Regions from separate parts of the Homo sapiens genome. Here regions 1, 2, 3 and 5 are each linked to region 4. Evidence: promoter capture Hi-C in 16 types of primary human blood cells and fetal thymus (Javierre and others, 2016). All regions are on one chromosome and are shown on one strand. Each heading gives the region's core, a stretch centred on a gene start or on the middle of the fragment in contact. The rest is flanking DNA. Distances are from core to core; before and after follow the strand shown. Region 1 holds the start of CYLD (CYLD lysine 63 deubiquitinase). Region 2 holds the start of NKD1-AS1 (NKD1 antisense RNA 1). Region 3 holds the start of HEATR3 (HEAT repeat containing 3). Region 4 overlaps BRD7 (bromodomain containing 7). Region 5 holds the start of CNEP1R1 (CTD nuclear envelope phosphatase 1 regulatory subunit 1).

What was found. Contacts are between HindIII fragments. The CHiCAGO score rates a contact against its expected background, and 5 or more counts as called.
Region 1: the fragment with the promoter of CYLD here is called in contact with a fragment that was not itself captured in region 4 in 12 of 17 cell types (naive CD4 T cells, total CD4 T cells, naive CD8 T cells and 9 more); the score reaches 21.6 in naive CD4 T cells.
Region 2: the fragment with the promoter of NKD1-AS1 here is called in contact with a fragment that was not itself captured in region 4 in 3 of 17 cell types (non-activated CD4 T cells, naive CD4 T cells and activated CD4 T cells); the score reaches 7.0 in non-activated CD4 T cells.
Region 3: a contact is called between the fragment with the promoter of HEATR3 here and a fragment that was not itself captured in region 4, in 1 of 17 cell types (neutrophils). The highest score is 7.8, in neutrophils.
Region 5: a contact is called between the fragment with the promoter of CNEP1R1 here and a fragment that was not itself captured in region 4, in 3 of 17 cell types (neutrophils, naive CD8 T cells and M2 macrophages). The highest score is 7.8, in neutrophils.

The regions. Positions count from the first base shown.
Region 1 is chr16:50,740,666-50,743,365 of GRCh38, forward strand. CYLD (CYLD lysine 63 deubiquitinase) reads left to right here and starts at 1,421. Exons shown (of 19, transcript NM_001378743.1): 1 at 1,421-1,459; 2 at 2,097-2,176. It overlaps CYLD-AS1 (CYLD antisense RNA 1), which reads right to left and starts at 2,082. Exons shown (of 7, transcript NR_184279.1): 1 at 2,006-2,082; 2 at 663-739; 3 at 15-129. MIR3181 (microRNA 3181) reads left to right here and starts at 1,640; the gene lies at 1,640-1,712. RefSeq lists a silencer at 1,236-1,835 and an enhancer at 2,076-2,175. The HindIII fragment of the contact is 2,791 bases long and covers 951-2,700 here.
Region 2 is chr16:50,612,360-50,615,059 of GRCh38, forward strand. NKD1-AS1 (NKD1 antisense RNA 1) reads right to left here and starts at 1,291. Exons shown (of 3, transcript XR_007065197.1): 1 at 1,232-1,291. The region is part of intron 4 of NKD1 (NKD inhibitor of Wnt signaling pathway 1); the gene reads left to right. The HindIII fragment of the contact is 2,641 bases long and covers 1-2,297 here.
Region 3 is chr16:50,064,591-50,067,290 of GRCh38, forward strand. It overlaps HEATR3 (HEAT repeat containing 3), which reads left to right and starts at 1,380. Exons shown (of 15, transcript NM_182922.4): 1 at 1,380-1,679; 2 at 1,777-1,949. The coding sequence starts at 1,542. It overlaps HEATR3-AS1 (HEATR3 antisense RNA 1), which reads right to left and starts at 1,734. Exons shown (of 3, transcript NR_186390.1): 1 at 1,463-1,734; 2 at 101-217. RefSeq lists an enhancer at 1,188-1,482 and silencers at 1,333-1,382, 1,713-1,762, 1,843-2,102. The HindIII fragment of the contact is 22,013 bases long and covers 1-2,700 here.
Region 4 is chr16:50,336,836-50,339,535 of GRCh38, forward strand. The region is part of intron 6 of BRD7 (bromodomain containing 7); the gene reads right to left. Among named protein-coding and RNA genes, the nearest start is that of BRD7, 31 kb to the right of the region's middle. The HindIII fragment of the contact is 6,225 bases long and covers 1-2,700 here.
Region 5 is chr16:50,023,791-50,026,490 of GRCh38, forward strand. It overlaps CNEP1R1 (CTD nuclear envelope phosphatase 1 regulatory subunit 1), which reads left to right and starts at 1,435. Exons shown (of 6, transcript NM_001281789.2): 1 at 1,435-1,550; 2 at 2,606-2,677. The coding sequence starts at 1,526. RefSeq lists an enhancer at 1,124-1,625 and a silencer at 1,439-1,748. The HindIII fragment of the contact is 11,127 bases long and covers 1-2,353 here.

The sequences.
Region 1 (2,700 bases), core at 171-2,670, 400 kb after region 4:
CCTCTGAGTCCTACCAGCTTTGTTGGAGAATCCAGATGTAGATGAGAACGGTGTTGCCTAAGGCCACACTTCAAGCCAGGCCCGTTGATTTCCAACTTATGGCTTCCTACAGCAGTGTGGTCATGAAGCCTGGAAAACAGGAAGATAGGAGTGACAAAAGAGGGACAGGAGTAGAATGAGGCTTAGGTTTTCAAAAGATGCTCATTTCATTTTGGATGACTATGGCAAGGAAGAGTGGTGGCCTGTCTACTGCTACTGTTAGTCATCACTCATGTGACTGTTTTTATGTATTCATTGGTTTAAATTCCCTGGATCTCCAGAAACATGTCACTTTCCACTGGGGGAAATTTGTGTCATGATTAAAAACACACACACACACACACACACACACACACACACCCCTCCTCCTTTCTCAGTGTTAATCACCTTCTCCTATAATTAGCACTTAAAATGTCAAAGGAGAAGAAATTAATTAACAGGAGTATCCAGTGCAGCAAGGCTCTAGGACTGATTATAAAAAGCACTTCCTTAAATATTTTGAGTGCTTTTGGGAATCAGAAGCCTCCCTTCTAATTGAAAGATCCTTAACTACACCCTAAGTCCTGGCTGGTGGCCAGGGGTGCGGGGCTGAGTGAGGCGGCGTGTGGAAATCCCTTCTTCACCATCCTTGGGAAAATTCCCTCCAAACTGGGATAGGTGGCAACAGAGGTTCGGAAACAGCAAGCGTCCCAGGCTGAATCTGCGGAGGAGGAAGAGATGAACCTTTCCTGAGCTGGTACTGCGTGCCAGGAACTTTAGCTCGGTATTTTGCCACAATCCTGTAAGACAACCGATACTATGATCTCCATTTTACAGATGAGGACATTGAGGCTCAGCGTGGTTGTGACTTCCTCAGGTCACGCAGCCACTGAATGAAAGCGCCAAAGATTCAAACTGAGGTCTGATTCTAAAGCTTTGCTCTCTCACGGCATCCTGGAATCCTATTTCAACCTTCATCTGGACTCTTAACCCAGCCCAAACCTAAGCGTCTACAGTTTTGACAGCTGAGGCGGGAGCACGGGAGGCGGAGCTGGTGGCAGCGCAGCGCCCCGCCCCGGCTCCAGCATCAGCCAATGGTGACGCGGCACCCACAGCCTTTCGCCCAATCAGCTTGAGCTTCCCGCCTCCATCCGCCGCTCTTCTCTGCCCCGCCCCTTCGCTTTCCCTTTGGTTCCACCGAGCTTGACAGAGCGGAAAGTCCCTTCGGCCGGCGCCGGGCTGGCAGCCATTGGAGGAAGGTCTGTCACAGGGAGGCCCAATCACGGCCCGCTCAGGAGCGCAGCTCGGCCTACGATTGGCTAGCGCGGCGGCTGCCCCCTCCGCCCCCGCTCCCTCCCTCTTCCCTGTGCGGTTCGGAGGCGGGGCAGGTGGGGGCGGGCCCAGGTAGCAGGTTTGGCTGCGCGGGGGCCGCGCGTCGGAGGTAAATACTAGGGCGGTGGGTGTGGGGAGCCGGGGCCGGCCCGGGACGCGGGCTGGGGAGCCGGGGCGAGGGGCGACGCCCCGCCGCCCGAGGTTAGTGAATGAGCGGGCGGCTGGCGGCCGGCGGGCGGCCGGATCCCCTCGGCGCAGCCGCCTGGCCTCAGGGCGTCCGGAGCCGCCGCGGCGACCATCGGGCCCTCGGCGCCGGCCCGTTAGTTGCCCGGGCCCGAGCCGGCCGGGCCCGCGGGTTGCCGAGCCCGCTGACGTCAGCCCGGGTTTCCCCCCCCCACCGGGGCTTCCCCATCCCCCGAGGCTTCCCGGGAGGGCTGCGAGTCCGGGGAGCGTGCGGGGTCGCCACCATCGGGACCCCCAGAGGAGAGAGGACTTGGGGCGGGAGCCGCGCGGGACGCTGTCCCCCTCCCGCCCCCCACCCCATTTACAGATTGGGAGACTGAGGCACAGGCCGCTGGCGGGCCCCGACGGCCACGGTTGGCCTCAGGAGCCCGGGGCTGTGATTCCTACCGACCGCGCCGCGGGGCGTACGTACCGATCGATTTTGCGGGTGTTGGTGGCTCCCGTCCAGGAATGGCAGTCGGGGTTCTGGCCTTGTTAATGGCGTGTTCTGCTTTTTCTTTCAGTTTCCCCCTTTCTAGGGTGAGGATGGTTCTACACAGCCACCCGGAGTTCCTTAGTTGAAAGGTGCGCCCTGCTGTGACAGGTATTCTTTCTTTATGTTTTTCTTTCATGTTAACAATCGAGGGGGGTGGGGGGCGAATGGGGGGCGGGGGCGAAGTCATGAAATCTTCAGGAGATGGTGTTGAGTTTGGTACTCAGCTGGGTCAGCTGCCGGTTATTCATGTACTTGGCATCGTTTCTCTTCCACCCCTTGGCATTTGAATGTTTTAGGATAGTTGTCATCTTCCAGCCACCAAGCCTGTGGCCTTGCAGTCTCCCAGCCCCCATCATCCCTGCCACCTTCTTCTCCTCAATTTTTCCTGGAAAGTTTTATCCTTAGCTCAGCTAAGGAGCATGCCTACCTTGCTTTTGAATTCGGGCTAATTAGGGATCTTAATAAGATTGTTCATTTTGCAATCATTGGCTCTCAGAGAAGCACCCAGGCCTTGAGAGGGTGTTCGTTTGATTGTTGGCTTTCTACACACCCCCTCACGCCCCAAGTAGACTGAATGGCCTTAAGAATTTAGCCTCCCATTCCCCACTGAGCAGTAGGTGGATTTGAACTAG
Region 2 (2,700 bases), core at 41-2,540, 280 kb after region 4:
GGGTCACACAGCAGACTGAGAACAGAATCTGGCCCCTCACTCCTCACCATTCAGTATGTGCTGGGCATTTGCTGCAGCTAGGGGCTCTGCTGGGCCCTGGGTTCACAGGCACGAGCAAGGTAGGCAGGCCCAGCAGTCACGACATTCACAGGAGGGAGGCAGGGATGAATACATAAATCTGCGAAGGAGCATGGAAGTTTCTAGTAGTGGTTCTCTGCTAAGACGTAAAACCCAGGGAGAGGTAGAGTGAGGAGGCTTTTCTGAGAAGGTGATGTTTCAGCTGAGATGCAGATGCCAGGAAGGAGCCAGCCATGGAAGAATGTAGGGGGAGAGCAGCTATGAGTGAGCAGAACCCCAGAGTGGAGGGAACTTGGTGTTTGGGGAAGAACAAAAAGGAGGCCGATGTGGCATCAGGAATGAGAGTGGGGTGGTCGGCAAGTGTGGGACCACGCCCTTAGGTTGCGTGGTTCTGCCCAGATGGTTGGGTGGGTGACTGCTGGATTCTGACCTCTGTTTTAAGAAGTTAATTCTGGCTTCTGGGAGGGACTGCCCATGGGCAGGGAGGAAGAGGGCAATGAAACCAGGAGGTGACTGCAGGGTCGCAGGCGAGAGGAGATGGTGCTGGCCTAGCCTGGGAGCTTGGGGCTGGGGAGAGGTCCATGGGGCTGGAGGTTGGAGCTGGTGAGAAGGGGGTTGAGGGAACGAGAGAGATCAGGGATGCATCTTAGACTTTTGGTTTCAGGAACTAAGGATTTGGCGGTGTCACTTCTGAGGTGGAGGTTTTGGCGGGTGACCATCAAGCCTCCCGTTTTTGGACCAGTTGGGTTCAAGATGCCCATTTAACATCCAAGGAGAGGTACCGAGGAGGCCGTGGGATACCTGGTGATTGGAGCTTGGGGTTCAAGGAGCAGTTGGGCAAGAAACAGAGAGAGAGAGCGAGTCAAGACTTCTCAGGAAGTAGCCACGGACATTGCCCGGGACTCTCGGGCAAGGCTCCTCAATACACAGGGCTGGCGGTGGCTTCCCAGGAAGGCTGGGAGGAAGAGGAGTTCATGGGAAGGCAGCAGGGACCCCCAGATGGAGGGGCAGGTGCCCATGCCCCGCCGGCTCCTCTCCCTCAGTTCAGAGCCTGTCCTGTCGGGGGGTGTCAGCGGCCCTGACTCTCCACTCCCCTACAGTCCCCCCAGAAGCTGAGTTGCAGCGGTGACAGAGAACAAGCGGACTTTGTTACCTTGGCAGTTTCTCTCAAGTCTGCTCCTCATAAAAGCTCAGCTGGAACAGTGGAAATTCTGACTTGTGTCAGATACCGGAGAGGCTTTAATAGTTTCAAGTAGCTCGGGGTTAGATTGTAAAAGCCGAATTTCATCACATGTTTTAACTTGGGTGGGGGCGGGCGGGGGAGAGTGGAAGGGACGTGATATTTTTAGCCCACAGAAGGCTTTTTCTCCCCTTTCCCCTTCTCTCCCGGGGCTTCCCCCTCCCTCCCTGAACAGATGTTTCGTCTCAATCCTGTTCAGATGTCAAAGCCGAGTGGCCACCAGCCTTATGCTCTGATGAGGAAAAAAAGGCCAGAATGTTATTTGTTGAGAAGGATTTCCTCCCCTACCCGCTTTTCCCCCTTTTTTGTTTCCCCTCAGTTACAATTGGTCCATAAGCAAAATCTAGTGGCAGTAAAATGCAGCTGGGAGGCAGGATGGTGGAGAAGAAGTCCCTGGTGGCATTTCTGGTCTCAGGAAGGGGCAGACACCCACAGGTGAAAAAGCTGGAAATCACCCTAGAGGGACTGCCCTGGGTGAGTGAATTACTGCTGTGGTGCTGGTGCTGGTGGTTTTTCCTAAAAAGCAGGATCTCAGAGAGACGGATTTGTTAAGTCAGGATTCTTTCGGTTCTTTTGGAAACTCACTTAAACTTTTGGCTCATGAAATTGAAAAATCCTAGGGTAGATCTTGCCTAAAAAGGCCTGTTTGGATTCTGGAGCTAAAACCATGTCATGGACACATGCACGCACACACACACACTCACACACACACGTATACTCACACATTCACACACATGTCTCGCTCGCTGCCCCTCTCTCTCCCTCTCCATCATCTCTCCCTCTGTCCCCTGGTGGCTTCTCCCCCACAGGGGGCAAGGGTGGCAGTTCCCAGCTCTGGGCACTCCCATCCTATGAGCACAGCCCTGTCAGGTGGAAGAAAGTTCCCAGGTCACAGGGGTTCTTGCACATGTTGGACTCACTTTATTGACCACTTTACTGGTCACTTGACCAGGGTAGATCTAGGTTTTATGGGACCTGAAGCTTTCTGGGGCCAAACCAAAATAAATATCTCACCAACTCAGTCTCTCCTTAGCTCATGTCCAGAAATGCCTGTATTTCCCCTAGTATCACCTCACACAGGCAAAGGATGTCAGAATGGTTAGATGACAATCTTAATAGATTGAGGATAAAATGCCTAATTTGGAAAATGTTACAAATACAAACACATATGACCACATAAACACCTTGCAAAGACCCATCCTGACTTGGAAAGGGCCCGTGTAGGTGAGAGGGCCCAGAAGCCTAGCTTCATTAGCTTCTTCATAAACTCTTCTTTCATACTGACCTAGGACCAGCCACGTGGCCTTCAGGATGAAACAAGCTGGGTCAGGTAGGGGTACTGAGTGCAGTGTGACCCTGGAGTGGGATCAGTCTCCATAAAC
Region 3 (2,700 bases), core at 130-2,629, 270 kb before region 4:
TGAGATCAAGAGTTCGAGACCAGCCTGACCAACGTGGTAAAACCCCGTCTCTCCTAAAAATAATAATAAAAAAAAAATAGCTGGGCATGGTGGCACATACCTGTAATCTCAGCTACTTAGGAGGCTAAGGCAGGAGGACTGCTTGAACTCCAAGGCAGAGGTTACAATAAGCCGAGATCGCACCATTGCACTCCAGCCTGGACAGCAGAGTGAGACTCTGTTTCAAAAACAAAAAGAAAAAAAGAAAATTGACCCAAAGCTATGCATATATTGAGTACTCACTCGTTACATGTCTAATTATAAAGACCACCTAAGATTCTCCTGTACTTTTCCCTCTGCTTAGTATTTACCACAATTATAACCAAAGTTATTCATATAATTATATATTCAACAGATCTCTCCCTGGACTGTAAATTCCATAAGGACAGGGAGAGAGGACAGGAACCAAACTGTCTTGATTACTGCTTTATTCCAATGCCCAGCACTGTACCTAGTACTCAACAAATATCTGCAAAAGAATCTCTTTGTTAAATACGTTTCCAAACATTTACATAGTGCTTAGTATCTGCCAGTCTCTGTTCTTAGCACCTTAAACATATGAACACATTTAGTCTTCGTAACAACTCCATGAGGTATATACTATCGATGTCCCCACTTCACTGATGAGGAAACTAAGGCAGGGAGATTAGGTTCTTAAGCGATTCTGTTTTATCAAATATAGACACACATTCGTTCCAAAACATTAACTAGTCTCTGTCTACGACAGGAGCTATGGGAGGTGCTGGGGACACAAAATAAAATCGTGGTTAATGCTTTTTGAGTACCTGCTATATATCAGGCTTGGTGTTAGGCACTTTACAGAACTTTATGAACTTTACAGAACTTACAATAACCTTGCAAGTTAGGTATTCTTAATCACATTTGATTATTTGTAGCCGGTGTTACTAACTTATTGGTTGCTTGATTGATTGATTGAGACAGGGTCTCGCTCTGTCGCCCAGGATGGAGTGCAGTAGCAGGATCACGGCTCACCTCAGCCTCAAACTCCTGGGGTCAAGTGATCCTCCGGCTTCAACGTCCCAAGTAGCTGGGACTACACACACACGCCACTATGCCCAGATAATTTTTAATTTTTTTGGTGGGGAGGACAGGGAGTGGAGTGTTTTCCTATGTTGCCCAAGATGGTCTCGAACTTCTGGCCTCAAGTGATCCTCTCGCCCGGGTCGGCGTTACTATTCTAGTCCAACCTCCTACTTACCCGGTAAACCCACAAGGCTCCGCCCCTTTGCCGAAGCTGGCCCCGCCTATGCCCTCTTCCACGCCTGCGCGCTCCGTGCGCCAGTTCCCCCCACCCCGCCCCGCCCCAACCCCGACCCGGCAGACGACGCGCCGTGCGCCTGCGCACGGCTTGCCCATGTGTGCTGCAGCCGTCAGCCGGCCCAGCTGAGCAGCAGCAACGGACCTTGTTAACGGCGCGGCAGCCTCCACCGCCTGCTGTTGCCCTCCTCTCTCGGTGGTCTGTCCGCCCAGCGCACGTCACCATGGGCAAGAGCCGGACGAAGCGCTTCAAGCGACCTCAGTTCTCCCCTACGGGCGACTGTCAGGCCGAGGCGGCTGCGGCGGCGAATGGGACCGGAGGCGAGGAGGACGACGGGCCGGCGGCGGAGCTGCTGGAAAAGGTGAGGCGAGGGCTCCGTCGGGCCGGGAGGCGAGACGAGGTTGCCCCGCGCGCGTGCGCATTGCGCGCCTTCTGACCCTTTTCGCTCTCATCCGCAGCTCCAGCACCCGAGCGCCGAGGTCCGCGAGTGCGCCTGCGCAGGGCTGGCCCGGCTGGTGCAGCAGCGGCCGGCACTCCCGGGCCTGGCGCGACGAGACGCCGTGCGCCGCCTCGGGCCGCTGCTGCTAGACCCCAGCCTGGCCGTCAGGGAGACTGCAGCCGGCGCGCTGAGGTGAGCCAGGAAGGGTGCGGGGCGGTGCCCACCGCTGGCCTCCCCCGCGTCTGGGCTGCGGGCGGTCGCAGCGGTCACCCAGCGCCTTCTGTGTGCCATCAGGCACTGGCCCGGTCTCCCGTTTGCAGAGATTTGAAGCCAGTCTCCAGGCTCCGGAGAAGCCCAGTATCCCCGCATCTCATCTGTCCACCTGGCTGCTTCACCTGCAGCGTCCACCTGCTCAGGCGTCCTGCCCTCACGCCTTGCGCACGTTTTACACTCTCCAAAAGCCCTCCTTAGGGTCCCTTGCTTGGATGAACTCTTCAGTTCATGTGTCAGGAATCGTTCTAGATGCAGGGGACTTTGAGCAGCCAAGACTTTTGAGCGAGATCTGTTGACAGCCAAGATCCCTGTCTTGGCACAAGTCATGTTGATGGGGAGACAGACAGGAAGCTAGTAAAAAGGTAAAACATAATATTAAATAGTGAGAATTGCTGTGGGAAAACGAGATGATGATGAGTTGGGGGTGGGAAGTTTGAATTGGGTGCTCTTGGGCCGGGCGCGGTGGCACACACCTGTAATCCCATTGCTTTGGGAGGCCAAGGAAGGAGGATCACTGGAGGCCAGGAGTCCAAGGCCAACCTGGGCAACATAGCAAGACCCCGTCTGTAGAAAAATTATAAACAATTAGTCGGGCATGGTGGTGGGTGCCTGTAATCCCAGCTACTCAGGAGGCTGAGGTAGGAGAATCGCTTGAGCCCAGGAGTTCGAG
Region 4 (2,700 bases), core at 135-2,634:
GTTTAATTTTCCTTTGAAAGCAATGTCTTTTTCTTTTTTTGGTAATTAAAATGCCTCCAAGTCAGCACATTATTGATCTTCAATTTTACAATATTAAATGGCTAACAGGGCTGGTTCTTTGCTAATAATATAGCTAACATTTACTTAGTGCTTACCCATGTGCCAGACACAACTCCATGAGGTAAGTACTACTATTATCCCCACTTTACAGGACAGGAAAAAGGCTGACAAAGGTTACCTGGGCTAAAGTCACACAGCTTCCAAAGGGTAGAGCTAGGACTTGAACCTTGATTGGTCTGATTTCAAAGCCACTATGCTACAAATAGTATTGTTTGTACTACTTTGTTTGTACTACAATGCAGCATTTTACTCAAGTATTTATTTAGGAGATAAAAAGTTACTCTTCATCTGTTCATTCTTCTTTTTTTTTTTTTTTTTTTTTGAGACGGAGTTTCCCTCTTGTTGCCCAGGCTGGAGTGCAGTGGCGTGATCTTGGCTCACCACAACCTCCACCTCCCAGGTTCAAGCGATTCTCCTGCCTCAGCCTCCTGAGTAGCTGGAATTACAGGCATGCACCACCACGCCCAACTAATTTTGTATTTTTAGTAGAGACGGAGTTTTTCCATGTTGGTCATGCTGGTCTCAAACTCCTGACCTCAGATGATCCGCCCACCTCAGCCTCCCAAAGTGTTGGGATTACAGGCATGAGCCACTGTTCCTGGCCTCATCTGTTCATTCTTTATAAAAATAACACGTCTACTAATAGTTGTTATTTGAGTGTAACTGAAAAAATGATGAGTGACTACTCTACAATTTTTTCAATGAACATTCAAAAACAGTTATCTTTGAAAAGACACCATTCACGGAAGGGTGTGCTGGGCTCTCTTGGAGCACAAACTATTAGAAGAGTTAACTCAAAAGGTCTAAATTTAAACGTTTAAAAATCACTGTTGTGACGACCCCTCCCCTGTAGGGTGGAGAGAACAGTCAATAGGAAGCTAATAACACAGGATGGGTGGGGCTCCTCAACAGCAAAAGATCTGAAAAAAAGGAAGACAACAGAGAGAAAGAAAGAGGGAGAGAGGGAAGGGAAAGTGAAGAAAATTTTATTTTCTGTGCTTTCAACCATTCCACACGCCAGTAAAATTCAAGAGATAATGGAATCTTTTGCTTGTTGTATTAACTACATTACTTAAGGAAGTGGTAAATCAAAGGTCATTAAAAATTAGGCTCCCACCACCCAATTCAATGTACATATTTTGGAGTGACTAAAGGCTGCATTTGACAAATGCATTTTTACTTCAAATACATTAACAAGAAGCATTTCCATGTCTTTAAACCTGGAATATGGCATGGTTCTAGATTCTGAGAGTCTTCCTGCAAAGAATGGGTAAACATTTCATATTCCTCTTTCCTCTGCGAATGTTGTCAAAGATGGGTAACTGGCTTCCATTAGTTTCCCAAGTCTTTAGGAAAGGGTGGGAACCAAAGTTGTCTAAATATTAGGAGCGCAAGAATAATCAACAATCCAAACATGTTTTTCTTTCTCTAGTTAAGTGAATCCAAGAATCTCTCAGCCAAGCATACAGACACTCAGACATCTGCACACCAAGGCATTTCTTTAAATGTAAAACTGTAATACAGAAAAATGAATCACCATAAAAATCGAAAAACCACATGCAGATGCACGACTCATTTTTATCATCCTTTAACTCCCCTGAATGTGAGCTCAAGCTCTGGACTCTGATTCCTTTCTCCTTCTACCAGTGTCTTATACCCACTCATTTCTTCTTTGCAAAATCCCTGTCCTATCTTGTGGTTCTTTTTCATAGTATCCTCTCTACTCTACCTCTTATCTAGAATCAGAACAGTAATGCTAGAAATCATCTTGGAGACCACAGACTAAACCCTTCTTTAGGGATGAGAACACTGAGTCCCAGGGTAGTTAATGTCTTGCCCAAAGTCCACAAGTTAGTGGAAGAGAGCTAAAATGAAAACTCTCTTCTGCCTGCCTGCCATGGTATGGTATGGTGCCAGGATCACCCTTGATTCGTTCCCTAAAGTAGTCTCTTACATAGGTTTCTCCCACTCAGAGTGGTGAGAAAAACCTCAAAAGATATGGCTTATCTTGCGAGTTATTTTCTCCAGCGGATGCACAGTGATCATCTCAGCTTACCCTTCAAAGCCTTTTATCAACTGTCGTCCTGGGGACACTAGTAATTTTTTGCCACTGTGTATAATATCTCATGTTTACGCTCTTTCCTGCAGTTTGATGATGATGTGTCTGTGCCTACGCACACACTTCTCTGACCTCAAATGACTTACTATGCACTAATTCTTACCCTTTAAGGAAGAGTCTGCTGTTGTGGAGAGGTGGTTTTGAGACAGTTTCAAATTTTCTCTCATTTGTATATAGTCACATGTAGCTTAATGAAGGGACGCGTTCTGAGAAATGTACTGTTAGGCAATTTTGTTGTGTGACCATCAATGAGTACACTCACACAAACCTAGATGGTATAGCCTATCAGACACCTGGCTAAATGATATAGCCTACTGCTCCTAGGCTAGGAACCTATACAGCATGTTACCATACTGAATACTGCAGACAGCTGTAACACAATGCTAAGTATGTGTGCATTTAAATATAACAAAAGTACAGTAAAAATACAGTATTACAATCTTATGGAACCACCACTGTAT
Region 5 (2,700 bases), core at 185-2,684, 310 kb before region 4:
AGACTGGCTAGGGCCAATCTATGGTGGGTGGTCTCTTATCAGGAGAAAGTTACTGAAATCAGTCTCTTGTCTAATGAAAGCAGGAGTTATGGCTTGTGGAACAAAGGGATCAGTTAGTCAGTGACTGGTACTTGGTAAGCTGCAATTGTTTTAATATTGCTTGTTTAGCTGCTAGAGGAAAAAAACGAACATTGTGGCAGTTAGAACATCGTTTATTCTTTAAGTGTCTGGGTCTTGAGTGATTTAACCCTTGCCTGGCAGGGCCTTAGGTCTTGTTTATAAGTTGGTATGTTACTGCCACAAAAAAATCTAGCCCATCAGTCTTAGATTCTTTTTTTTTTCTTTTTCTTTTTTGACAGTCTCACGCTGTCACCCAGGCTGGAGTGCAGTGGCTCACTGCAACCTCCGTCTCCTGGGTTCAAGTGACTCTCGTGCCTCAGCCTCCCAAAGAGCTGGGATTACAGGCATGCACCACCACGTCTGGATAATTTTTTTGTATTTTCAGTAGAAACAGGGTTTTGTCATGTTGCCCAGGCTGGTCTCAACTCCTGACCTCAAGTGATCCACGCGCCTCAGCCTCCCAGAGTGTTGGGATTAACAGGCGTGAGCCACCGCGCCCGGCCAGGATCTCTATTTTAACACAACTATTCTTATTTGAAATCAATTACTTATTTGCATGTTTGTTGCCTGCTGTAGCCCTTCCTCTTTGCGGGCAGGAATCCTGTCTACCTGGCTCACACGCGTATCAATACAGTGTCTAGCATGTTAGGCAATAAAATGATTTTGAATGAAAGAATGCCACCAATAAATGAACAAGAAGGCCTTGTGATCAAATACAAATGTAGTCAATCCCTTACAGATCTCTTCTTAAGTTATAGGTATTTGGGCTTACACTTTGCCTCATTTAGGAATTATGAAAGCTGGGTGATGTGAGAGGAAAGTAACCAAGAGAGAAGTGTTTACTTAAGGGGTTGGTTATCTAGGATACCATAATTAAGGAAACTGGTTATTTAGGGTTCTAGTTAGTTCTGTACAGATTTCATTACTCCTTGAGATCCTTGAGGACAGAACCAGCTCTTTGATTTCTGTATCCCTCGCTAGCGACCAGAATAATGCCTGGAAGGTAGTGGGCGCTCAATCAACATTTGACGAATGAAAGAACCAAGCGGGGAACGGGGGATAAATGAATGAACGAACTGGCTCCGGAGGGCTGCAGTTCCTCCCCGGGGCAGCAGGCGACGCCAGCGTTACGCCCGCCTGGCCGCCGGCAGTTCTTGGTCCCTCCGGCTGACCGTCCAACGCTAGGCGCCGAGGCCGGTGCAAGAGACAGCCAATAGAAAGCTGTCTTAGTTGGAGGTCTAGTAGAGGAATCCAATGAGCGTAGCGGGTCTAGGCAAGGGGCGGTGCGACGGGGAGGGGCAGCGGGGAGCGGTTAGAGGTGGGAGTTGGCGCTGCGGGCCGGGCGGGGGCCGCGGAAGCTGCGATGCGGACAGGGCAGCGGCGGTGACCCGAGCTGCCGCCCGACATGAACTCGCTGGAGCAGGCGGAAGGTAGGGTGGGCCGCCCGGGCCCGTCCCCCGTCTCCCCTCGGAAGCTGGCGGTGCTCCGGAGGAGCCGGCGTCGTGAAGACCCCCGCCCCGGGAGGAGGCCGCAGAGGATGGAGCTAGGGGCCCGGAGCTTGGGGGCGCGTAGGCGGCCGTACCTGGCCAGACGCGGGGGGCGGTGCCTCAGCTCCCTGAGTCCCCACAAACCTAGAGGGTCGACCTCCTCGCCAGCTTCTATTTTTATTTTCTTTTCACTGGCAGACACTTGCACTTCGTGCATTGCAGCCTGCTAATTCATTTCATTTCATTCTCACAGCCCCGCGAGTTGTATCCCTGATTCCTGCGGTGGTTTCCGGTAACTGCCAAGGTTAGGAAGTGCTGCTCGGTGTTTTAAAGTTTAAAGCACACCACTGCGGAAAGGATACCCCACCACTCACTCGGAGCAGCTTAGACGCCCCTGTCTTCTAGAACTAGGCGCTGCCTGGGTGCCACGAAGATCACCTGTACCCCTTCGGAGGGGGCAAGGGGAATGTCTTTCCACACCCACTCGCTATCAGTGTCAAGAAGTCTAGTAAGGCCAGACGGCGTAGCCATTAATTAAATATAAGAGCTGGAAACCGGAGGCGGGTAATTGCAGTCAGGTAGACCTCGAAGACTTTGATGTTAGGCACTACGTGGTTCTAATAGGAAGTTCTTGGTTCCCAGAGAGCTAAAACTCGACCTGATTTTAATTTTATTTGCAACCCTGAAAATGTTCGCTTTTGGCGCTGGCCGAGGCTGCTGCTTATTTCTCCCAATACCATTTATGAAGCTTCTAAAAGTAAATCAGCAAGTTTTCTTATATGAGAAATTGGAATTAAAGAGCCCTAATTTTTTGTCAAGTGCTTAAAAAGCTGTCATAGTAAATGAAATAAACAGTGCAGTGATACATGGAAGTTAGTGTGTAAGACCTGAAGCAGTTAAGAGTATCTCACATGTCGTCTTAATGTTAGGTAAATACTCTGACATTTCGTCAGACGAGTAAGAGTGGCTAATTAGAAAATTGACATCTTTATACCTAGATCTCAAGGCTTTTGAGAGGAGACTTACTGAATATATTCATTGTTTGCAACCTGCTACTGGACGCTGGAGAAGTAAGTTCCTGAATGTTATTTTA